2 separate regions of the Homo sapiens genome follow, and region 2 is linked to region 1. Evidence: promoter capture Hi-C in human tissues and cell types (Jung and others, 2019). All regions are on one chromosome and are shown on one strand. Each heading gives the region's core, a stretch centred on a gene start or on the middle of the fragment in contact. The rest is flanking DNA. Distances are from core to core; before and after follow the strand shown.

What was found. The method cuts DNA at HindIII sites, captures the fragments that hold promoters and counts their contacts. A contact is called where the count stands out against the background at its distance.
Region 2: a contact is called between a fragment that was not itself captured here and the fragment with the promoter of MORC3 in region 1, in 1 of the 25 tissues and cell types used here (dorsolateral prefrontal cortex).

What each region holds. Positions count from the first base shown.
Region 1 is chr21:36,316,673-36,321,897 of GRCh38, reverse strand. It overlaps MORC3 (MORC family CW-type zinc finger 3), which reads right to left and starts at 1,701. Exons shown (of 17, transcript NM_015358.3): 1 at 1,595-1,701. The coding sequence starts at 1,633. RefSeq lists a silencer at 1,118-1,577. The HindIII fragment of the contact is 28,282 bases long and covers 1-5,225 here.
Region 2 is chr21:37,080,667-37,085,567 of GRCh38, reverse strand. The region is part of intron 1 of TTC3 (tetratricopeptide repeat domain 3); the gene reads right to left. Among named protein-coding and RNA genes, the nearest start is that of TTC3, 9.9 kb to the right of the region's middle. The HindIII fragment of the contact is 7,551 bases long and covers 1-4,901 here.

The DNA.
Region 1 (5,225 bases), core at 452-2,951:
TGCTTCCTTTCTCCCCTCAATCTTGAAGAGCCAGAGTCTACAAGGGCCTGGGGGCGGGAAGGGAGAAGAGAATCAAAGGACAGAAACAGGAAATCAACTCACTCCGTTTCTCCACTACAGGTTTCTGGGCCTGAACAAGACTCAACCTCGAGAGAGGAAGGAGAGAGAAGTGGGGAAAGGAGATAGGGGAAAGAGAGGGGGAAAAGGGAGGGAGAGAGAATAGAGATTTTAAACTAGGTAAGGCCAGACTTTACAATACCTTAAGCTAATGGGAAAGCGTTAGTCAACCCAGATTCACACAAGTGGGGAATAATTAATGTTTACACTCAGTGGTTAAAAAAAAAAAAAAGAAAAAAAGAATAAAATTGTCCTCTATTTTCAAACTACTAAAGCCTAGCTCACTCAATAAGCTAGTTACATAACGAAAGGATGGACCTTTATCCAGAATACGTAAAGAACTCTTACAAATCAATAAAGATCCTCCCAAAAGAAAAACAGAAAATGGTCAAAGGATATGAATAGGCAATTCAAAAAAACAAAACAAAAAACCACAAAGACTAATACATGCGAAGAGCTCAACAACACAAACAGTCAAGGAAACGCAAGTAAAAGCAAATATCATTTCACAAATATCGGACTAGAAAAAATTTAAAGTCCGTCAAAACCAGGTGTTAGAATCTGCCTAAACGAATGAAAGTCCCAGAGCAATGCACCAATTATTCACTACGTGTTTGTACCCCAAGGAGTCACTACCCATTCGAATGTTAAAATTAGTGGCACTAGGGCAGTCATTCTTTGGCAAAAGTCAACAACCTCCAGAAAAGAGGAACATTTCAGCATAACATCAACTGCGCTCACAAGGTAGAAAAGTTTTTTAGGATAATCAGGTGGGGAAGCCACGCCCACATTTCCTGGACGTGAGATTTCAAGTTATCTTGTGTGACCGCTCCCTACGATTTAAGATACAAGAAATGTTCACAGGGTTTCCAAGAACTCGAAACGCCCCAAAACAGACGCAACGCGGGATAAAGAGGAGAGCTCGAGCTCAGCGATCTAGGGTCTGGGCCCCAAGGCTTCCACTGCCAAGGAAGCTGCAGGCACTGACAGGCATCAGGCACACTCATCCTGACTCCACTCGCCCGCAGGCAGGCCCGCAGCCCCGTCCCCCCGCCCCCGGGACGTCGAGGCCGCCGGCGTTTCTGGACGCGGAACCCGCTCCCTCCCACCACGACGCCCAGCGGACAGAAGAGGGTCAGGGGCCCCGCGGCCCCGAGAGCAGACCGATCTCCCGCCGAGGCCTCGCCCGCGGACGACAGCTGCTGGGAGACTAGGAGGGAGCTGGGAGGAGGAGCCGCGACCCTGGCCCGCCCCGAAGCAAAACAGAAACACAATGCAGAGGCGACGGAACGCAGCCCGGCCCGCAGCCGAGCTGTTCCGCCGACGGGAGCGAGATGGCCGCCCCCTCCCCGGGCCCCGCCGCAGCCCCCGCCGCCGCGTCGGCCCCACAAGCCGCCACCGCCCACTGCCGGCCCCCCTTCGCTTGCCCGCCCGCCCTCCTGGGACACGGCCCGCTCCACCCCTCGCGGCTGCTCACCGCGCTGAGGCGTATCCCGCGGGGTGGCTGCGCCGCCATCTTGAGCGAGCTACAAAGCCAGGAACGGCCTCCGCCGCAACCCGACTGGGAGGTGGCGGAACGACTGTGGAGCCCTATGGGTACCGCCCACTTCCGGGGAGGGGCGCACGTCTGGCCCCTCCCACCCACTTCCGCCTCCAGGCAATGCCGAATTGGGAGCTTGGGGAAGATGAATTGCCTGACTGGTTAAAGCAGGGTACAGTGGGAGCTGAGCTTCCAGCGCGGGGCCCTGCGGGCCTAGGGCGCATGCGCGAGGCGCGGCCGGCCCGTACCCGTCTCGACACCCAGCTGGAGCTCGAGACTCGGGGATCTAGAGTTTGAAGCCTGGCGCGAGATGCGGTATACCCGAGACCGGTGAACTCCAGTCACTTGACCTGGTCGGATGTGAATTGCGCAGAAAAAAGCCATTCCATATCCACCAGTGTCCATGTGAAACCTTAACGAAATAAAGACGGAAATTAATGTAGACTGTTTGGATTTGCCCTGAAAACTATCAATCTAACTCATGATTTAAAAAAAAAAAAAAGAGTTCTGGGGCCGGGCGCGGTAGCTCACGCTTGTAATCCCAGCACTTTGGGAGGCCGAGGTGGGCGGGCGGATCACCTGACTTCGGGAGTTCGAGACCAGCCTGACCAACATGGAGAAATCCCATCTCTACTAAAAATACAAAATTAGCCGGGCGTGGTGGTACATGCCTGTAATCCCAGCTACTCGGAAGGCTGAAGCAGGAGAATGCTTGAACCCAGGAGGCGGAGGTTGCAATGAGCCGAGATTGCGCCATTGCACTCCACCCTGGGCAACAAGAGTGAAACTCCGTCTCAAAATAAATAAATAAGAGTCCTAAAGGCATAAGGCCGGTGCAGTGGCTCATGCCTATAATCCCAACACATTGGGAGGTCGAGGTTGGGGGTTCACTTGATAGGGGTTCAAGACCAGCCTGGCCAACATGGTGAAACCCCATCTCTACTAAAAATACAAAAATTAGCTGGGCATATTAGTGGGCGCCTGTAATCCCAGCTACTCGGGGGGCTGAGGCAGGAGAAGTGGGTGAACCCAGGACAAGGAGGTTGCAGTGAGCCCAGATCGCGCCACTGTACTCCAGCCTGGGCGACAGAGTGAGACTGTCTCAAAAAAATTAATTATTTTTAGAAAGAGAAATTGGCTGGGTGCAGTGGCTCATGTCTGTAATCTCAGCACTTTGAGAGGCTACATTGCGAGGGTCTCTTGAACCCAGGAGTTCGAGACGAGCCTGGGCAACACGAGGAGACCTCATCTTTACAAAAAAAAAATTGAATTAGCTGGCAGGGCGTGGTGGCTCACACCTGTAATCCCAGCACCTTGGGAGGCTAAGGCGGGCAGATCACTTGAGGTCGGGTGTTTGAGACCAGCCTGACCAACATGGCGAAACCCCATCTCTACTAAAAATACAAAATTAGCCGGGTGTGGTGGCACATGCCCGTAATCCCAGCTACTGGAGAGGCTGAGGCAGGAGAATCACTTGAACCCAGGAGGTGGAGGTTGCGGTGAGCCAAGATCACACCACTGCACTCCAGCCGGGACAACAAGAGCGAAACTCCATCTCAAAAAAAAAAAAAAATTAATTGTGCTTGGGGGCGCACGCCTGTGGTTCCAGCTACTTGGGAGGCTGAGGTGGGGAGGACTACTTGACCCTGGGAGACTGAGGCTGTAATGAGCCATGTTCTCACCACTGCACTCAGTCTGGGCAACAGAGCGAGACTCTCGTCTCAAAAAGGAAAAAGAAACAAAAGAGAATGGATTTTTTTTTCTTTTTTTTTTTTTGGAGACCGAGTCTCGCTCTGTCGCCCAGGCTGGAGTGCAGTGGAATGATCTCGGCTCACTGCAAGCTCCGCCTTCCGGGTTCACGCCATTCTCCTGCCTCAGCCTCCCGAGTAGCTGGGACTACAGGCGCCCGCCACTGCGCCCAGCTAATTTTTTGTATTTTTAGTAGAGACGGGGTTTCACCGTGGTCTCGATCTCCTGACCTCGTGATCCGCCCGCCTCTGCCTCCCAAAGTGCTGGGATTACAGGCGTGAGCCACCGCGCCTGGCCTGGATTTTTTTCTTTTTCTAGAGACTCTGTTGCCCAGGCTGGAGTACAGTGGCACAATCATAGCTCACTGCAACCTTGAACTCTTGGGTTCAAGCAATCCTCCCGCCTTAGTCTCCCAAGTAGTTGGGACAACGGGTGTGTGCCACCACACTCAGCTGATTTTTAAAATATTTTTTATAGAGAAAGGGGTCTTGCTGTGTTGCCCATGCTGGCCTTGAACTCCTGGGCTCAAGTGCTCCACCTTCTTTGGCCTCCCGAAGTGCTGGAATTATAGTCGTGAGCCACCATGCCCGATCAAAGAAGTAAGTAACCAGGATAGAGAGGAATTTCCAAAGAATTCAGAGGGACAGCATTCGAGGGAGACACAACTCTGCAATTCCAGAAAAACAACAGCAGAGGCCTAGAGATTTGGAAAGGGCTGCTCATGTTTGAGGAACTGATATGGGACAAGTGTAATTAGAGCCTGGCATTGGAGACAGAGAGTGCAGTAGGATAGTGATGAATTGATGAAGTGCAGTAGGATAGTGATGAATTGATGACATAACCTATTGTACAACAGACTGGTCTGCACAACCTGTTGTACAATAGAGTATGTCTTCAAATTTTCCTAAGGTTGAGAGGATTCTGGAAAGATAGTGTGAGGACATGGTTTTTGAGCCACCCCAAAAATACCACTACATAAATCCCTCCATAAAAACACATAGAGGGCTGGGTGTCATGTCTCAAGCCTGTAACCCCAGCACTTTGGGAGGCTGAGATGGGCGGATCACTCGAGCCCAGGAGACCAGCCTGGGCAACATGGGGAGACCCCATCTCCACAAAAAAAATAAAAAAATTAAAAAATTTTCTGGGCGTGGTGGTGCACACCTGTAGTCCTAACTGCTCGGGAGGCTGAGGTGGGAGGATCGCACTCCAGCCTGGGCAACAGAGTGAGACTCTATCTCAAAAATAAAAAAATAAAAAAAACAGCTAAAAGGCATCCTCATCAACCCCAAGACAGGAGCAAGTGGAACAACATGCACGAGTGTGTCCGTTTAAGAACAACAGAGGGGGGAGTAGCAAGATGGCCGAATAGGAACAGCTCTTGTCTGCAGCTTGTCTCCCAGTGAGACCAACGCAGAAGGCAGGTGATTGATGCATTTCCAACTGAGGTACCCGGCTCATCTCATTGAGACTGCTTAGACAGTGGGTGCAGCCCACAGAGGGTGAACAGAAGCAGGGTGGGGCGTCACCTCACCCGGGAAGTGCAAGGGGCCGGGGAACTCCCTCCTCTACCCAAGGGAAGCTGGGAGGAACTGTGCCTTGAGGAACGGTGCACTCCAGCCCAGATACTACTACACTTTTCCCACAGTCTTCACAACCTGCACACCAGGAGACTCCCCTGGGTGCCTACACCACCAGGACCCTGGGTTTCAAGCACAAAATTGGGTGGCCATTTGAGCAGACACTGAGCTAGCTGCAGTTTTTTTTCATACCCCAGTGACGCCTGGAATGCCAGTGAGACAGAACCGTTCACTCCCCT
Region 2 (4,901 bases), core at 626-3,125, 760 kb before region 1:
TTACGGCTCATGTCTTCCTGATTTCCTACCACAGCCATTCTTCAACTTCATCAAGAACTCTTCATTTTTCACCCATCTGAATCCTCCATTCTCATTCACTGTCAGTTTCCTAACAATTTGGTTTCCACTTCGACCATTCAAGGGAAACTGCTTTCATTAGGATCATTAATGACCTTCCACAAAAGACTGGTTATCTATAATGTCTAGAACCTGACCTATTCTGCATGAATATTTCTAGAGTTTAAAAAATTTAACTCTAAAAGTGAACAATGACCAGAAAACATAAGATACTGGAGCACCCAAACTATAGCACATAATATGAGGTATATGCTAATCTCACTTGTCTTACAAATTTTTTTGGCATAAAATACAGAAAGAGCCAAGAACTGTCACAGCCCACACATCATGGCATCAATTACAATACAATTAATGTGCTCATACCTGGCAGACTGATACTGGTCATTCAAGCCTAGCGAATCTCACTGATAACACACACAGCACCAATTGTACTGTAATTACGACACTGGGGTATATTTTATTTTCTATTTTGTTTTGGTTTGTTTGTTTGTTTGTTTGAGACACAGTCTCACTCTGTCGCCCAGGCTGGAGTGCACTGGCACGATCTCGGCTCACTGCAACCTCCACTTCCCGGGTTCAAGCGATTCTCCTGCCTCAGCCTCCCAAGTAGCTGGGACTACAGGTGCCCACCACCACGCCCAGCTAATTTTTGTATTTTTAGTAGAGACAGGATTTCACCATATTGGCCAGGCTGGTCTTGAACTCCTGACCTTGTGATCCGCCCGCCTCGGCCTCCCAAAGTGCTGGGATTACAGGCGTGAGCCACCGCACCCGGCCTTGTATTTTGTTTTTAACTAGAGAGGCAATGTGACAAAGTGGTTAAGAACAGGGACTCTGCAGCCAAGACTCTGGGCTTGAGTCCTGGCTCTCTTGTTTCCTTGGGTGTGTGATCTTGGGCAAGTTACTTAACCTCTCTGTGCTTCCTCTGTGTTTCCTCGCATATCAAATGGGGATAACGATACTACCTACCTGATCAATCTGTTAATACATGTAAAGAGCTTAGAAGAGTACCAGGTATATGGGAAATGCTATAAATACCAGCTATCATTAACATTAATGTTAGATGAGTATTTTTAAAATCCACTGTTTGGATGCTTCCAGCTAAATAGTCTACCTTAATTGCTAAATCCAAAGAGCACTTTTCAGCTTACAACTTACTTGACGCTGTGGACCACTTCCTCCTCAGAACTCTTCATTTGGACTCCAAAGACCATCTTCTCCTGGTTTTCCTCCTATTCGTCTGGCTGCTCTTCCTCAGTTTCCTTCATGGGTTCTTCTTCTCCATTCCCCGCCACCCAATGTCAACTCTCTTTTCTTCTCACTCTTACTCTCTCCTTGGGTGAATTTATCCACCACACCCATGACTTAACACAGCACTTTCTGAACTTGCATCGTTTGCATAGCTTCACCGTGATTTTTGCCATTTCCATGTATCACATATATTTTTAGTTAATATTTCCCTTTTATTGAGCTCACTTGGCCTAAGTGATAATGTCCATGATTATCAAAGGTTAGATGTGCAAGTTATGTTTCTCATACACATTAAATTCCTATCTATTAAAATTTTTTCAAGTGTTTATCTATGTACCAGTTTAAATTATCTCATATGCACTGCAGTAAACAATGGCTTCCAAAATTCCAAATGCTGAAGACTCCCAAATCCTTCCAGGCGGGGTTGTATCTCTTGACTTCTAGACCCTACTAGAACTACTACAGGATCTTAACCAAGATGTCCCACAAGCCCCTCTGAATCAGGAAGTTCAAAAACAAACATCTTTTCCTCAAAAACAAACATATGAAATGAAGTTCTTTCCTCTTTCTGTATGCTGTTTATCAGTTAATTGTTCTACATGTCATTTTACTGCCCAAACCTAAACCCTGGGAGTCAACCTAGACTCCCCAGTCTCCTTCAATATTTCTGTCCAATGGACCACTAACTCTTGTCATTTCTGCTTCCCTAAGAAATCTAAAATTAGCACACATATACTTCTTCATGCCCAGTGCCACTGCCTTCACTGTTTCTCCTCTGAACTAATTTAACAAGCAGTCTCCTAACTGGTCAGACTTGCCTTCAATCTTGGCATCCTCTAAAACTCTGATCATATCACTTTACTGCTTAAAACCATGCAACAGCTTCCCTTCAGCTTGAGAATAAAGTCCAACTTCCCTAATATAAGCATAGAAGACCTTTTGTGATCTTGCTCCTGCTTTTATCCCCAGTCACTCCACAACACACAACCTAGAAGCCAGTCATACCCAACTGCTTGTCCTTCCTAAACAAAACTTATTCTGCAACCACCTAATGTCTATTAGTTCTTAATACTCAATTTCAGGAAGCATTTCCTGATCTTCCCACTACCATCAAGTTGATTTTTGCACCTCTTCTCTGTAAACAAGAGCACCCTGCCCATGTCTCTGACAGCAGTTTTCACATTGTTTGACCATCACAGGTTTATCTCTGCAGGGTCACTATGGATCCAGAGGATATATTGTGCAATCCATTTGCCATCTGTACTGCTATTTACTTAATACTTTTCTTTAGGATAACTCAAATCTTAACTTAGATGTAAACTAGTTTTAATGGAAATGTTGGTATCACCAAGAAAGCTTGCTTGGTACCATAAAATTTTTTATAATACAATCAAACAAAAATATACTACTAAAATTAAATATTAAAATAAAGAGCTTCTGATCCCATCAGTTATGGTCAACTATACACTCTGGGGGAATGTACTGTTGGGAGGAAAAAGGTATATCCTAGATTAAAAAAAAAAACACTTTTTGGATGTTTTTGCTGAGCTCATAGAAATAGGGGAACATGTGAAGGCACCCTCTCCACGCAAAAGCAACAAACCTTGAGCTAGAAATTAAACCTGGCTACAGTTTAGTGCTACAAGTAGTGGTGCCAAGAGCAGTAATAGGATCAGGACACTGAGCCCTGGGCCAGAAGCAAAATGTAGGAACTCAAAAGTGATGCCAGCTAAACTTTCTGGCTCCCAGACAAAGCTGATAGAAATGCTTTCAGAAAGCAAGCATCCTCAAATTAGACTCTCAAGATCACCACAAAGATCAAACAGAAGTTCATAATCAATGATCACCAAACACATGAGGTGACAGCTACATTGAGGAGAGACAACAGAAAAAAAAACAAAAAAGCAATAAATTTAGACATCCCCCTCCTCAAGGATATCAGACATTGGGAATGTCTGATATAGTCTACAGAATAGCTATAGAGTCACAAAAATCAGCATATAACATGAGAACATGAAGAATGACTGGACATATCAAAAAAGAACCAGGCAGAACTTTTAGAAATTAAAAATGCGGCCGGGCATGGTGGCTCATGCCTGTAATCCCAGCACTCTGGGAGGCCAACGTGAGCAGATGACGAGGTCAGGAGATCGAGACCATCCTGGGTAACACGGTGAAACCCCGTCTCTACTAAAAATACAAAAAAATTAGCCGGGCGTGGTGGCGGGCGCCTGTAGTCCCAGCTACTCGGGAGGCTGAGGCAGGAGAATGGCGTGAACCCGGGAGGCGGAGCTTGCAGTGAGCTGAGATCGCGCCTCTGCACTCCAGCCTGGGCGACAGAGAGAGACTCCATCTTAAAAAAAAAAAAAAAAAGTAATTAAAAATGCAATTGTTAAAAGAAAAAAAAGAGACAGGATGGGTTACAGAGGATATTAGGCACAGTTGAAGAGAAAATTGGTGAACTAAAATATATGCCTTATGAAATTATCCAGCACTGTAAATTCTGGTAAAGAGAAACAAAGAGATAAAAAATATGAAAGATAAAGAATAAGTGATCTGGAAACAGTTTAGTGTATATATATATCCAGTTAAAGTTCCAGCAGGAGAGAAGAGACTAATGAGACATAATATTTAAAGAATACAGGGCTCAGAAACTTCTAGATCTCATGAAAGACAAAATGCAGAATCATGAAACACATGCATCCAAAATAGGATAAATATAATCTCTATCTAGACTTAGAAGTGAAATGATGTAACACAAAAGACAGAAAATCCAATGTAACTAAAAGAAAAATGATATTTTCTTCAAAAAACGCATAAATAGGCTGGGTGCAGTGGCTCACGCCTGTAATCCCAGCACTTTGGGAGGCTGAGGCGGACAGATCACGAGGTCAAGAGATCAAGACCATCCTGGCCAACATGGTGAAACCCCATCTCTACTAAAAATACAAAAATTGGCCAGGCATGGTGGCAGGTGCCTGTAGTCCCAGCTACTTGGGAGTCTGAGGCAGGAGAATCGCTTGAATCCAGGAGGCGGAGGTTGCAATGAGCCAAGATGGCGCCACTGCACTCCAGCCTAACAACACAGCAAGACTCCACCTCAAAAAAAAAAAAAAAAAAAAAAAAAAAGGCATAAATAAAACTGGCAGCACACTTTGTATAAGCAACAGCAGAATAGTATTCCTACCCTACTGACAGAAAAGAAACACCAACCTACAATTGTACATCCATCAAAATGATCTGTCAAGAACAAAGGTAAAATAAAAATACTTTTAGATTTTTTTTAATATCTAAAACTGAGTCAAACACCAACCAAGACACCTGGAACATAACCAATTAAAAGACAGAAGTTGTCTGGTGAGATTAAAAGAAAAATCCAGTAGTATGTCCCTTATAAGAGACACTTAAAATGTAAGGACACTAAAAAAAATCAAAGTAAAATGAAAGAAAAGAATATTCCAGGTAAATTAGCACCAAAAGAAAGACGGGATCAGACAAAAAGCCTCTAAGACAAAGAAGCAAACTTAGAGAAGATCACAATATAGTAAAGGTTCGAGCCACTAGGAAAAAAA